3 separate regions of the Homo sapiens genome follow, and all the other regions are linked to region 3. Evidence: promoter capture Hi-C in 16 types of primary human blood cells and fetal thymus (Javierre and others, 2016). All regions are on one chromosome and are shown on one strand. The core of a region is centred on a gene start or on the middle of the fragment in contact, and the rest is flanking DNA. Distances in the headings are between cores, read along the strand shown.

Region 1 (4,664 bases), core at 1,826-4,325, 240 kb after region 3:
TTCCTCGACACATACACCCTCCCAAGACTAAACCAGGAAGAAGTTGAATCTCTGAATAGACCAATGACAGGCTCTGAAATTGTGGCAACGATCAATAGCTTACCAGTCAAAAAAAGTCCAGGACCAGATGCATTCACAGCCGAATTCTACCAGAGGTACAAGGAGGAGCTGGCACCATTCCTTCTGAAACTATTCCAATCAATAGAAAAAGAGGGAATCCTCCCTAACTCATTTTATGAGGCCAGCATCATCCTGATACCAAAGCCGGGCAGAGACACAACCAAAAAAGAGAATTTTAGACCAATATCCTTGATGAACATTGATGCAAAAATCCTCAATAAAATACTGGCAAACAGAATCCAGCAGCACATCAAAAAGCTTATCCACCATGATCAAGTGGGCTTCATCCCTGGGATGCAAGGTTGGTTCAACATTCGCAAATCAATAAATGTAACCCAGCATATAAACAGAACCAAAGACAAAAACCAAATGATTATCTCAATAGATGCAGAAACAGCCTCTAACAAAATTCAACAACACTTCATGCTAAAAACTCTCAATAAATTAGGTATTCATGGGACGTATCTCAAAATAATAAGAGCTATCTATGACAAACCCACAGCCAATATCATACTGAATGGGCAAAAACTGGAAGCATTCCCTTTGAAAACTGGCACAAGACAGGGATGCCCTCTCTCACCGCTCCTATTCAACATAGTGTTGGAAGTTCTGGCCAGGGCAATTAGGCAGGAGAAGGAAATGAAGGGTATTCAATTAGGAAAAGAGGAAGTCAAATTGTCCCTGTTTGCAGATGACATGATTGTATATCTAGAAAACCCCATTGTCTCAGCCCAAAATCTCCTTAAGCTGATAAGCAACTTCAGCAAAGTCTCAGGATACAACATCAATGTACAAAAATCACAAGCATTCTTATACACCAATAACAGACAAACAGAGAGCCAAATCATGAGTGAACTCCCATTCACAATTGCTTCAAAGAGAATAAAATACCTAGGAATCCAACTTACAAGGGATGTGAAGGACCTCTTCAAGGAGAACTACAAACCACTGCTCAAGGAAATAAAAGAGGATACAAACAAATGGAAGAACATTCCATGCTCATGGGTAGGAAGAATCAATATCATGAAAATGGCCATACTGCCCAAGGTAATTTACAGATTCAATGCCATCCCCATCAAGCTACCAATGACTTTCTTCACAGAATTGGAAAAAACTACTTTAAAGTTCATATGGAACCAAAAAAGAGCCCGCATTGCCAAGTCAATCCTAAGCCAAAAGAACAACGCCAGAGGCATCATGCTACCTGACTTCAAACTATACTACAAGGCTACAGTAACCAAAGCAGCATGGTACTGGTACCAAAACAGAGATATAGATCAATGGAACAGAACAGAGCCCTCAGAAATAATGCCACATATGTACAACCATCTGATCTTTGACAAACCTGACAAAAACAAGCAATGGGGAAAGGATTCCCTATTTAATAAATGGTACTGGGAAAACTGGCTAGCCATATGTAGAAAGCTGAAACTGGATCCCTTCCTTACACCTTATACAAAAATTAATTCAAGATGGATTAAAGACTTACATGTTAGACCTAAAACCATAAAAACCCTAGAAGAAAACCTAGGCAATACCATTCTGGACATAGGCATGGGCAAAGACTTCATGTCTAAAACACCAAAAGCAATGGCAACAAAAGCCAAAATTGACAAATGGGATCTAATTAAACTAAAGAGCTTCTCCACAGCAAAAGAAACTACCATCAGAGTGAACACGCAACCTACAAAATGGGAGAAAATTTTCACAACCTACTCATCTGACAAAGGGCTAATATCCAGAATCTACAATGAACTCAAACAAATTTACAAGAAAAAAACAAACAACCCCATCAAAAAGTGGGCAAAGGATATGAACAGACACTTCTCAAAAGAAGACATTTATGCAGCCAAAAAACACATGAAAAAATGCTCACCATCACTGGCCATCAGAGAAATGCAAATCAAAACCACAATGAGTTACCATCTCACACCAGTTAGAATGGCAATCATTAAAAAGTCAGGAAACGAGGTGCTGGAGAGGATGTGGAGAAATAGGAACACTTTTACACTTTTGGTGGGACTGTAAACTAGTTCAACATTGTGGAAGTCAGTGTGGCGATTCCTCAGGGATCTAGAACTAGAAATACCATTTGACCCAGCCATCCCATTACTGGGTATATACCCAAAGGATTATAAATCATGCTGCTATAAAGACACATGCACACGTATGTTTATTGCGGCACTATTCACAATAGCAAAGACTTGGAACCAACCCAAATGTCCAACAACGATAGACTGGATTAAGAAAACATGGCACATATACACCATGGAATACTATCCAGCCATAAAAAATGATGAGTTCATGTCCTTTGTAGGGACATGGATGAAACTGGAAACCATCATTCTCAGCAAACTATCGCAAGGACAAAAAACCAAACACCGCATGTTCTCACTCATAGGTGGGAACTGAACAATGAGAACACATGGACACAGGAAGGGGAACATCACACTCCAGGGACTGTTGTGGGGTGGGGGGAGGGGGGAGGGATAGCATTAGGAGATATACCTAGTGTTAAATGAGGAGTTAATGGGTGCAGCACACCAACATGGCACATGTATACATATGTAACAAACCTGCACATTGTGCACATATACCCTGAAACTTAAAGTGTAATAATAATAAAATTTAAAAAAAAGAAAGTAATGCAAAAACTGCAAAAAAAAAAAAAGAAAAAGAAAAGAAAATGGGCATAACACCTACTTCCTAAAGTTGTTGTGAAGCTTAAATTGGAATAAATTAGCTAACATACGTAAACACTTAGATATTGCCTGGCATATGATAGGTGCTCAATAAATGTTAATCTTATACCTCAGGTGAATTTGTGACTGGCCTTTTGCTTTCTTGGGAGGAGAGACACAGGCATTATAAATTTCACCTGTCCATGTGGTTTGTACTCTTCCTTTCTTCTGTTTAGCAAAATGCCCTTTTAAAAAGTCCCAACCTTGCTTCAGTTGAACTGATGGGCAAATGTGATTTCCCACACCTGAGCTAGGGGATCTAGGCTCTCAGACTGCCCTGAGAGCTGTGCTGCAGAGGCCTGGCCAGAACCCTCAGAGCAGCTCCGGACTCCTTCCTCTGTCACTCCTCCACATTCAACTAGAATCCTATGTCTCCCGAGTTGACCCTGTTGCAAATCTGTGCCCCTTTTCATTTGCATGGGCCCTGCCGAAATTCAGAAGCTTAGTTCTTCCCATGACTATAGGGGCCTCGGGCAGGTCTCTTGCTCTGTCAAGGTCAAAACCCCTACTTTCCTAAATTCAACCATTGATTCTCCATCTTCATCTTACTTGATCAGCCACACTTGACATAGTTGATCACTTCTCCCTTTAAACATCTTCACATGGCTTCTGGGACCTTTTGTTTTCCTCCTACCTCCCTGGCCACTCCTTTTCAGACTCCTTTGCTGGTTTGCTCTCATTTTTCCCTAACCTTTACATGTTGATATGCCAGAGCACCTCAAACCCTTAGACCTCATCTCTGCTACTCGTGCTCCCATGGTGATCTCATCTAGTCTCTGGTTTCAAACACAGAGTGATCACTCCTGTACTTGCTGTTTCCCTTTTCCTGGAGTTCTCTCTGCCTCCTGCAGGTAGGAAGTGATTCGAGATAAGAGAGGGAGAGAACTCTTCTGGCCAGGATAGAGGGTGATTCTGAGAAGGCTTCAAGGAAGAAGTGAGCATTTGAGCACGGCTACTTGAGGAAGGCTAGGCCATGGACATTAGGGTGCAGGCAGGAGCAGAGCAAACATGCTTGTAAAAGGAACAGCAATTATTCTGTTTTATATTTATATCAGCCCATGGTGGCCCCCACAGCAGAGTGGCTTGATCTCTCACCTCCTTCAGGTCTTTGTTTAAAGATTAACTTCTCCATGAGGCCTTCTATGAACATAACCTTTAAAAACATAAATCCCCTTCCTACTGGGACTCCCCCAGTTCCCACCCTGAGACCCCCTATCTCTCTTCTCGATTTTATTTCTCTCCATAGGATGTGTATCACCACCTGACTTACTAGCTATTTACTATATATTAGTTTATTTCTTCCCCATTAGAATGTAAACTTCCTGAGGGCAGGGATTTTGTCTGTTGAGTTCAGTTCTGTATCCCCAGCACCTAAAACAGTGCCTGTCCATAACAGGCATGTTAAACATTGTTGGACAGATGAATGAGTGAATGAAAAATGGTAGTACCTTTCCTCCTCCAGTCCATCCTACACAAAGAGGCAAGATTAATTTCCCTAAATGCGTGAGCATTAGGAAGTGGGAGGGATTGGAGGAGGAAATTATAATAAGGAATCCATAAATTACTTAAGCCCATAAAACAAAGGTAGGAAACATTCAAGATAAGAGACCTCTTCTGGCCAGGATAGAGGTTGGTTCTGAGAAGGCTTCAAGGAATAGGCAGACATTTCAGCAAGGCTGCTGAGGAAGGATAGGCTGTGGAAATTAGGATGCAGGTAGGAGGATCACAGAGCAAACACTCCAAGGTGGGAAATGCAAGTGTGTGTAGAAGGAACAGCAAGTATTGTTGGGTTGGGCTGGCTTA
Region 2 (4,773 bases), core at 957-3,456, 180 kb after region 3:
TGGGCTACTGCCTCTGGGCTTCTGTCCACTTTTCTACCTGAGGAGAGAGGGTGAACTTCCAGTCTGGCTGCCCCCAGTCCCAGGCCAGGTGACCCCACCCACGCAGTACCCTAGCTTCTTGCTGCCACCACCCCCTCCCACAGCTGAGGAAGGCCTCTGCCTCTCTGAGGAGACTCCAACTCTCAGGGCCAGGGTCCAGCCCAGAAGTGACAGGAAGGATCCCTCTGGCTTATTTCCTGCAGATCAAAGTTGGGCAACAGCTGCCCAGATGTGTAAGCCTCAAACTGCTTCTGTCCCTGCCGGGAAAGAATACACTCAGGGTCTGGACCATCTGCCCCAGCTGGTTCTGGGCCAGGCTGGGGGTGAGGGATGTGGGACAGAGTTGGTAGGAGGCTGGAGCCAAGTTCTGGAAGGAAGGGTGGCGGGAAGGAAGACACTGTGGGTGGGAGTCAGAGCAGCCTGTATGAAGAACCGGACTAGGGCCAAGGCAGACACGCTCCACTACTGACACCAGGGGGCCCACAGACTTGGGTGGGAGGGAGTGTCACAGAGAGGCAATCCTGGATCAGTGGCTCAGGTCACCGAAACTCTGGTCCTAACTTTGCCGCCTAGCAGCTATGTGACCAGAAAAAACCGCTTTCCCTCTCTGGGCTTTGGTTTATCCACCTTGAAGACTGAAAAATGGTGGAAATGAAGTATGTAAAGTGCAGAGCCCAGTGGCACAAGTAGGTGCTCAATAGACACAACTCACCTGCATCCTAAAGACAGTTGTTCACCCCAAGCCTAAGGCCCTTCCCGGCCCAGAAGCTCTATGTCTGTGAAAGAATCAGGCTTCTATTCCCACATTAGAAGGGACAGGGCCCAGCTGGGCACAGTGGCTCACGCCTGTAATCCCAGCACTTTGGGAGGCCGAGGGGGTGGATCGCAAGGTCAGGAGATCGAGACCATCCTGGCTAACACAGTGAAACCCCGTCTCTACTAAAAATACAAAAAATTAGTGGGGCGTGGTGGCAGGTGCCCGTAGTCCCAGCTACTCGGGAGGCTGAGGCAGGAGAATGGTGTGAACCCGGGAGGTGGAGCTTGCAGTGAGCCGAGATGGCGCCACTGCACTCCACTCTGCTTTGGGGGTAGGGGTGTGAGGGGAGCTGAACAGAAAGAATGGAAGAAAGCCTGGAGCATCCAGGAGTTGGGAGGGTGGGTGGGCGTGGCGGCAGGGCCGAGGCGCTTCCCCTGGCAGGATCTGGACTCGGGGACCTGCCAAGACTCTTACTGCTCCTCCCAGCTGTCACCTATCTTGCCCATCCAACCCATGCCTGCTCCCTTCTCCCCACCAACCATCACTTGTACCCTGAGGCTGTAGCTCTGAACTCAATTACATCATTCTAGGGGGTACAATGGCTCAACACTTACAGAGCAGCCAAGCTAAAGCCAACATCCTAAGCTCAACAAGCTAAGCACCAGAGGCTGAAAACATTGGTAAGATGGGTTCTTATCTTCCAAGAACTTTTAATTAAAATGATAATAACACCTGTTGATCGTTCCAGCTAATACCACTTAGCAAATTCAACTGCCTTCAAGATCCAGCCACGTGATAAAAGTGACCACAGCAGCGTGGTGGAAGCAACAGGGCAGGTGCAGACTGAGGACAAGCTGTGAGCCAACATTTCAAAGTGGGCCAAAGTAAAGACAGCTGCTTCTGCTGCCTTCTGTGACATTTCCTGAGTTCTTACTAAGTGCCAGGCATTCTTTCACTTAATTCTCTCCAGAAATCTAGGAGATAGAGATTAGCATTGTAGGATTCAGACTCTAGCTCCTAGAGCTCTGGAGTGACTCCATGTCCATGCCTTTCTGTGACCCCCAGCCCTCAAATAGGGCAGGACCTGTGAGTAGCTCCTAAACAAGGAAATATAGCAAAGGGAATGGGACGTCATTTCTATGATTATGTTATATTATAAAAAACGTGGGCTCGCAAGGATGACATGCAAATTCATGAAGCATTCCATAAAAGACGGGGGCTTGGCCAGGCATGGTGGCTCACACCTATAATCCCAGCACTTTGGGAGGCCAAGGCGGGCGGATAACCTGAGGTCAGGAGTTCAAGACCAGCCTGGCCAACATGGTGAAACCCCATCTCTACTAAAAATACAAAAATTAGCTGGGCATGGTGGTGCGTACCTGTAATCCCAGCTACTCAGGAGGCTGAGACAGGAGAATCACTTGAACCTGGGAGGCGGAGGTTGCAGTGAGCCGAGATCGTGCCACTGCACTCCAGCCTGGGCAACAAAGAGAAAAACTCCGTCTCAAAAAAGAAAAAAAAAAAAAAAAAGACCTGGGCTTACTAGCAGACTGGTGCTAGACATTTTCTTCCTTGCTGAATTTGAAGAAGTGTGTGCCATGATCTGAAGGGGCATACAGAGAGGCTTTGTGGTAAGGAATTACAGGCAGCCTCTAGGACCTGAGAGCAGCCCCCGACCAACAGTTACCACAAAGATTTTAGTTCTACAACCACAAGGAGATGAATTCTGCTAACAACCTTCATAAGCCTGGAAGTGGATCCATCCCCAGTTGAGCGTCCAGATGAAGAACCCAGCCCTGGCTGACACCTTCACTGCAGCCCTGGAGAGGACCCAGCTAAGCCTAAAAAATGTGCGCTGTTATAAGCCCATAAGTTTGTGATAATTTATTATGAAGCAATAGAAAACTAAGGTAAGTACTATCTCCATCTTACAGATGAGAAACCTAAAGCTCAGAGACTTTGACCACAGGCACACACTTAGCATGAGGCACAGCAGGGACAGAGCCCAGTCTCCAGACTCAGCAGGCTGGTTTTCTCTTTAGGACCCCAGCTGCAGAGCTGGTCATTGTTCTCTCAGTGGCCACCTAGATACAGGAAGAGCAACCTGCATAGTATTGATTGAAATACCTTTTTTTCCATTTTAATTTAACAAACATTTGTTGAGCCCTCTCTGTGTGCCCAGCACTGTGCCAGGTGCAAGGGATTCCAGGTTGTGGCGGGTACAGTGGTGGACGTGGACAACAGACAAGCCATGTCAGTGTGATAAGGGTTACAGCATGAGGAGAGACGGGATGTGCTGGGAGCATGCGATGGGCAGCCAGCCTCCGCCGGGTGCCAGGGAGAGCCTCCCACAGGAAGTGATACACAGATCCCTTGGGGTGGGCCTGGTGGTGAGCCAGCCTCTCTGAATTGCAAGTGAGTGAGTAGGTGAGAGGGTGGGTTTTACTGGCGAAGGGTCCCCAGAGAAGAGGACTCTTCCAGCAATGTGAAATCACCCTGCTTCCGTGCACTGGCTTCCAGGACACCTGTCTCAAGGACCCAGGGCCTCCATGACTGCCCTATGACGCCTAAGAACTCAGATCCCAGTGAGCACCACTTCCCGGATGCATCAGGGTGGCTGGGGTGGAGAAGCAGTTGTTTGGCTGTGACTCTCCTCTTCTAAACATCCCCAGACATCTGGCAGGGGAAGCACTGTAGGTTGGGGTGGGAGGCAAAGCAGGGAAATAGGGGGTACATGGATGAGGGTATGAGCAGAGCCAGAAAAAAGAGCAGGAATTAGAAAGGGGCACCCCCTCCTATAGCCCAGCTGCAGTCTGTAGTGACTTGGCAGACCCAGGAGTCCTTGCTGATCAACTGGCTGGATGGTATGGATAATGCAGGGTCCCAGGAGGAAGCCGTCAACATACTCAAACTGGGGGATTTGAGAAGTATTCAATAAGGAGACTATTGTCAAAGGTCTTGGAAAAGGATTGCAGGAACCTGGACCAAGAGCATCAGGCTTTCCTGATGCTGGACCTGATGGCCCCAGGGGAGGTCACTGGACCTGCAGAGCTCTGGAGCTGAGTAGATAGGGCTGCCTGGCAGCAGCTGTGGCCTCATGGAGGGATGCAGCCAGGCTGTGGCTGCCCCACAGGAGGTTAAGTGCCCTGACCTCACTCTCCTCTCTGCCTCCCATAAGCTATCGGCGCTCCCCAGTGACCAAGGCAGAGGGTAAGGGCACCCATAGACGTAGTTCCCACAGTCCTAGGGGGCAGAGCAAGGTGGAGAAAGTTGGCAGGCAGACTGGAAAAAGGCACCCAATCCTGACTCATTTTCCTTCTCTGTACAAGAGTGTTGATGAGCATGCTTATGTTTTGCTTGTTCCAAATTTGAAAAGCAATCATGTATCTAACGGTCCCAGCCTGGAGTCTGGCAGGCACAGGCTGGTTGCCAGCATTTGGTTTCCAAGAGTCAGCAACAAGAACACAAAATCGGGGCCACTGAGAAGTCAGTCACCAGCCCCAGAAGCCCTGGGCAGCAGAACAATCACTGACAAGAGGTTGGCTCAGGAGGTCTTAGAGTCCTTGCCAGGAATGGAACCCAGAAACCCTTTCTCCACACACTCACTCACACCCCAATCCTGCAGCTGTGGGAGGCTGGAGAGCAGCAGCAGCAGGCCTGTAGGCAGCGCAGCGTCGGCCTTCAGGGTGGCAGAGGGGCAGGCAGCTAGACCAGGAGGCCCAGCTCTGCCTAGAATCGTGGGCCCAGCTGGTAGGAAACTGGGCAGTGCTGAGTTCACTTCCCCCAGTGTGGGGATCCTCCTATGCACCCTAGACAGTAGCATCTAGGTGGGAGGAAGCTCACGGCCCCACTGGGCTCCAGGGCAGCTGGGAAGCCTGATTATCAGCAAGTAGCCGCCTGGCCCTGGATGTCCCCAGCCTAGGGCCCGAACAACCCAAGCCCTCAGAACGTCTCCAGGCCCAGCCCCACCTTCTGCC
Region 3 (4,746 bases), core at 225-2,724:
GCATCCCATTAAACACTGGATGCAGGCAGAGACAGCTTTGTAAGACTCTGTCTTTATAAAGAAGGGAGACATTTATCTGGGTTCTCACTGGCTTCAGGAAGGTCACCTCTTTGTAAAGGTTCTCTGGTCTACTGCTAACTGGGTGCCAGGTGTATGGAAAATCAAGATGTGGTTGGCAGTAAATGATGAGAAAGCAATAAGGATCCCAATTCCACCACTCGGAGAGCTAGTCAGACTAAAATCTCCAAAGGTTGCCATTTATGAGAGAATTCGAAGGGTGTCCTTTGAGTCAACCTACAGCACAATAGATCAAACTTGTTCTGCCTCAAAAGTACAGTCAAGAGTGAGCAATCTTCCCTTACCACCCACTACTCCAACCCACCCAAGCTCCTTTCTCCAGGGATGCCTAAGTGATCTATTCACATGACTCTAGGATCCACCTGTATCCATGACAGTGTCTGCTGTCACCAACCTCCAAATGTCAATTTCTTACATATTTCGAAGTAATTGGAATGCTGTAGAAAGTGAAAATCATAGATTTTCAGTTTCATGTTACCCTCATCGCTTTCACCTGTATATCAGAGCTAGCTTCACGCATTCTTTTCTCTTGCCTCCCAGCTATCACGCAGTTGTTGGATAAAGCGGCCACTGCTCCCAAAGATTTGATGGAAGTTCTGCCAGATTTACCCACTCACCTGAAGGGAGATTTTCTGTACACCCCATGCCCCCGGACTGGTCACAAGGGTCAGCTGAGTTGGTTCACCCCCTCCCACTCTCGTCTTCGAGGCCCTTCATCCAGGAAAAGTCAGTCGCAAATTTAAGGCCTGGCCCTGTCGGGTTTCAAAACGATCCCGGAGGACTTGGGCCGAGGGACAAAGGAAAGCGAGGTCAGAGGCGGCCTTTCAGCCCGGGAGAGGCCTGGGGCCGCACAGCCGCCACCCCCTACATCACCTCCGCCGTCCCCAGTCACCCCCAGAAGTCCCAAACTAGCCAGAGCCCGGGCTTGCTCGCGTCCCTTCCGCGAGGCCGGAGCCCGAGCCCCCGCCGCCACCCAGAGCCCCCGCACCTTCTTGGGCGCCTTGGTGACGGTGGCCATGAAGGAGTACTTCTCGGCGTCCTCGATCTCCTTGGCCTGCTTCAGCTCCTCCCCGACCCCGGGCAGCGGCATCGCGTCAGGCATCGACATTCCCCGGCCGGCCCGGCCAGCGGCTGACCCGCCGCCCCCGCCTCTTTCCCCCTCTGGCGCCCGCCCGCCTGCCCGCGCGGCGCCCTCCGACACGCGATCGCCCACCCTCCTGCCGGCCCCTGCGTCGAGCTGCGTCGGCTTCTGAGGTGCTGTGGCCCACGCCTTGTCTGTTCGGCAGCCCAAGGCAGCCGGACAGCGACGGCGGCCACAAGAGAACCAGAACAGCAGCTCCGAGCTCCGACCTGCCCGCGCCGCCACCTCCGCTGTACGCAAACACGCACGCAAAGCGAGGGTAGAGGGCGGTGACGCCACGTCAAGTACTGGCAGCTCCCGGGAGGGGGAAGAGGCGGGGAGAAAGGGCACTCTGTCGTGACGTCACCACGCTGGGCTGGGCCACAGAAGCCGTTCCTCTCCCGCTCGAGAGCGAAGTTCCCAGGGTGAGCAGGACCCTTTGTGCCACCAGGTGGCACCATCAGCCCTGGGAGCAGCGCGAGGTTCATGCAACGATGCTGCGGAACGGAGGGTCTTTGGGCTGCGGGGTTCCTGGCAAGGCCTCAGAGGCGCATGAAAGGGGTGTTTGGGAGCAAAGACCAGAGCCCCACACGACACATCCTACAGCGATTCCTAGGAAATGTCCGGGGCTCGAGACAGCCCACTCACTCACTGGCCCAGCCCCAGGCCCTTTGGATTAAAGCTCCTTCCCAAGGGGCCGTGCCTGTCTTTTTGACTTCATAGGGGGCAGAACTGACTCAGAGTAGTCTGGTTTCTGCACAACGCTTTGTGACTTCCTCCACCACCATCTCCGACTGGGCCTTGCCTGTTTACAAAACCCTCATTGGGATAGGGCTGATGGGTATGAGGGTGGAGACCAGGAGAGCTGATGGAGAAGTCCCCAGCCAGAATGGCCTTCCGGTCCTTGCTCCACCAAAGCATTAGACCCTTCCAGCTCTCAGTGGGCATCCAGGACATTCATGGACTGCTCACACCCTTTTACTGGGCCTACTATGTGCAGTGCCTGTGCTGAGGCCCTGCTGGCAAAAGGACATGTGACGCATTTTATGTTTTGCAAGGCTTAGTTCAGCTGGAGAGGCAAAACCTGCTTGTATCCTAATGTCAGCTGAGGTAGCTTGTCCTTTGAGATTCAAATGACATTGGCTCCAATTACCATGTCCTGTGGAAAGTCCATTACTGGGAGGACTTGGATTTTCATGGTCACCTCTGGCTCTAGTTTTTTTGCCTTGTCTGGCATTTTATTCACTATTCTGGTCTTGTGACTGTTTCTGTAGCTCCTGGGGTCAATTCAGCCGCTTCTCCTTTCAACCCCCACCCCATGCTAAACAACTACAAAATAAGGCTGTAACATGTAGTAAAACTTTTAATAAAGGTTTGTGGGTCACAGGGGAGAGATTACATCACACAGCAAACAATTTAAGAACACATTTCTGAAATGTTCTGAAAAGTTATTTTGGCTGTCTTACCACCCGGGGATTTCTCAATGGCCACAAGATCCCACCACGCTCCCTAGCCCATTGCCATCTAATCTAGCTTCCTCCTGTTCCTCCCTTCCCATCTCTGCACCTCATCCTTCCTTCCTTGATAGACTCTGGGAAGCCAGATTCTCCTCTGCTGTGCTGAGCAATTCCAGTCTTCCCAGTGCCCTTTCCCTAAATTCCTCCCCAGGACCACCTTTTTTTTTTTTTTGAGATGACGTCTCGCTCTGTTGCCCAAGCTGGAGTGCTCTCAGCTCACTGCAACCTCCGCCTGCCGGGTTCAAGTGATTCTCCTGCCTCAGCCTCCTGAGTGAGTAGCTGGGACTATAGGCGTGCGCCACCGTGCCCGGCTAATTTTTGTATTTTTAGTAGAGACGGGGTTTCACCATCTTGGCCAGGCTGGTCTCGGATCCTGACCTCGTGATCCACCTGCCTCGGCCTCCCAAAGTGCTGGGATTACAGGCGTGAGCCACCGCGCCTGGCCAGGACCACCTTTTAACATCCAGAAACCTCCCAGGTTTTTAACAGGGCATACCCTTTCAAGAAGGAAGTTTTGGTTTGAAATGGCATTTTCCCCACTGATTTGTGTTCAGGGCTGGGGAGAGTGTGAAATATTCACCTCTAGGGCCCTAAAAGTCTTAGTCAGGGAATCCTGTGTTCCAGCCACCTAGCCTCATGAGACTGTCTGTTTGAAAAGGGCTGTAGAAGTGCCTGGAAGAATGCACCCTTTGCACATCTGCAGACCTTGGTCTTGAACTGTTTGTATTCTTTCATCTGCTCACTTTTTTGAGCACTCACACTTCCCTGTCAGGGGCATCACTGTAGCAGAACGGGAACAGAGATGGAGACCAGAATACCAGGTTCATCCATGAGGGTGCCAGACTGACATCTTTCAGCTAGGGGTCAGGAACCACACCTGGTGCACTAAGGACTCTCTGAACATAAGGCTCACAGTGGCTTTCATCCTTGTGGGTTTGCCCAAACTGTTGGCAGAGCCCAGGGATCAGAGATGCCTGCCCAAAGACTCGAGGCAGAACCCATTGGAACCAGGGATGAAATCTCAAGTCCCTATAGTAGAAAAATGTGTGACTTAAGAAGATCTTTTTTTTTTTTTTTTTTTTTTTTTTAAAGAGAAGCATCAGTGTATCTGTCTTTTGGATTTGATTTTTAGAACTCACTTTGTCTAAACATGTTGTCTCTCAGTCCCCCAGTTCTGCTGTGCATTTAAGCATCCAGACTGTGAGCTTCCTGGAGATTGAAGTTCAGTCTTTACTCCTCCTGGACCAGGTCTGCCCTAGCACCAGGCTCACAGTGTTGTCTGCTATTGCTGCTGCTACAGAGGATGACAGACAGGGCCAGGCCTAGAGCATGCAGTACCTTAGCAGTCTGGGCTAAGAAGGAGATCAGCAGGTCAGACTCCACTCACCTGAGTGGCTGGCCTGAGGGGAGGTTGATGAGCTGATGTAGGAGAGTTCGGGGACTCAGACTGGAAAGGGGAAGGGCAGCACCCCCTACCCTGGTGGAAAGCATTAGGCCTATGTGGTTCAAGTGAGGCCAGGGGCCCGGGACATTCTTGGAAACCAGCCACTGCAGGGGGCATGGGTGGCTGCCATCCCTTCCATCACGTGTGTGCTGGAGAGCAAAGAGCTCACCCAGCCAGGGAGTGTGACAACATAACATCCGTGAGAATCATTGCATCCTGTCTCCCACCCCCAAAACCCATCCTAAGATAGCCTCACATGGCACAGCTAAGGCGATTGCTTCTCATGAATGCCAAGAGATGACTTGTCTTCAGCCTACCCACCCACCTGACTCAGCACCTCTACTGGCAAGCTCACTGCCCTGAACAGCGCATCCACACACAGGTGAGAGACCCCCCACGGGGCAATTGGAGAAGAACAGGGACCCAAAGACAGATGCACCTGCTGTGTGTGGTGGTGGGAAGTCTCCAAGGGCCTGGAGCGAAGACCCTTGCTAGAAAGGAGTGGCCTAAGGGCAGTGGTGAATTGGGAGATGCTGTCACCAGAAATGTAGTGGCATTGGGCTACCACACGTGGGCTTGGTCTTGTT

What was found. The method cuts DNA at HindIII sites, captures the fragments that hold promoters and counts their contacts. A CHiCAGO score of 5 or more calls a contact.
Region 1: a contact is called between a fragment that was not itself captured here and the fragment with the promoter of AHCYL1 in region 3, in 4 of 17 cell types (erythroblasts, fetal thymus, neutrophils and 1 more). The highest score is 6.0, in erythroblasts.
Region 2: a fragment that was not itself captured here is called in contact with the fragment with the promoter of AHCYL1 in region 3 in 2 of 17 cell types (neutrophils and endothelial precursors); the score reaches 5.9 in neutrophils.

The regions. Positions count from the first base shown.
Region 1 is chr1:109,740,864-109,745,527 of GRCh38, reverse strand. It overlaps GSTM3 (glutathione S-transferase mu 3), which reads left to right and starts at 4,490. Exons shown (of 9, transcript NM_000849.5): 1 at 4,490-4,575. The HindIII fragment of the contact is 459 bases long and covers 2,846-3,304 here.
Region 2 is chr1:109,802,555-109,807,327 of GRCh38, reverse strand. No RefSeq gene overlaps it. Among named protein-coding and RNA genes, the nearest start is that of LINC01768, 23 kb to the left of the region's middle. The HindIII fragment of the contact is 6,934 bases long and covers 1-4,773 here.
Region 3 is chr1:109,981,493-109,986,238 of GRCh38, reverse strand. AHCYL1 (adenosylhomocysteinase like 1) reads right to left here and starts at 1,474. Exons shown (of 17, transcript NM_006621.7): 1 at 1,067-1,474. The coding sequence starts at 1,186. RefSeq lists silencers at 929-998, 1,179-1,248. The HindIII fragment of the contact is 11,948 bases long and covers 1-4,746 here.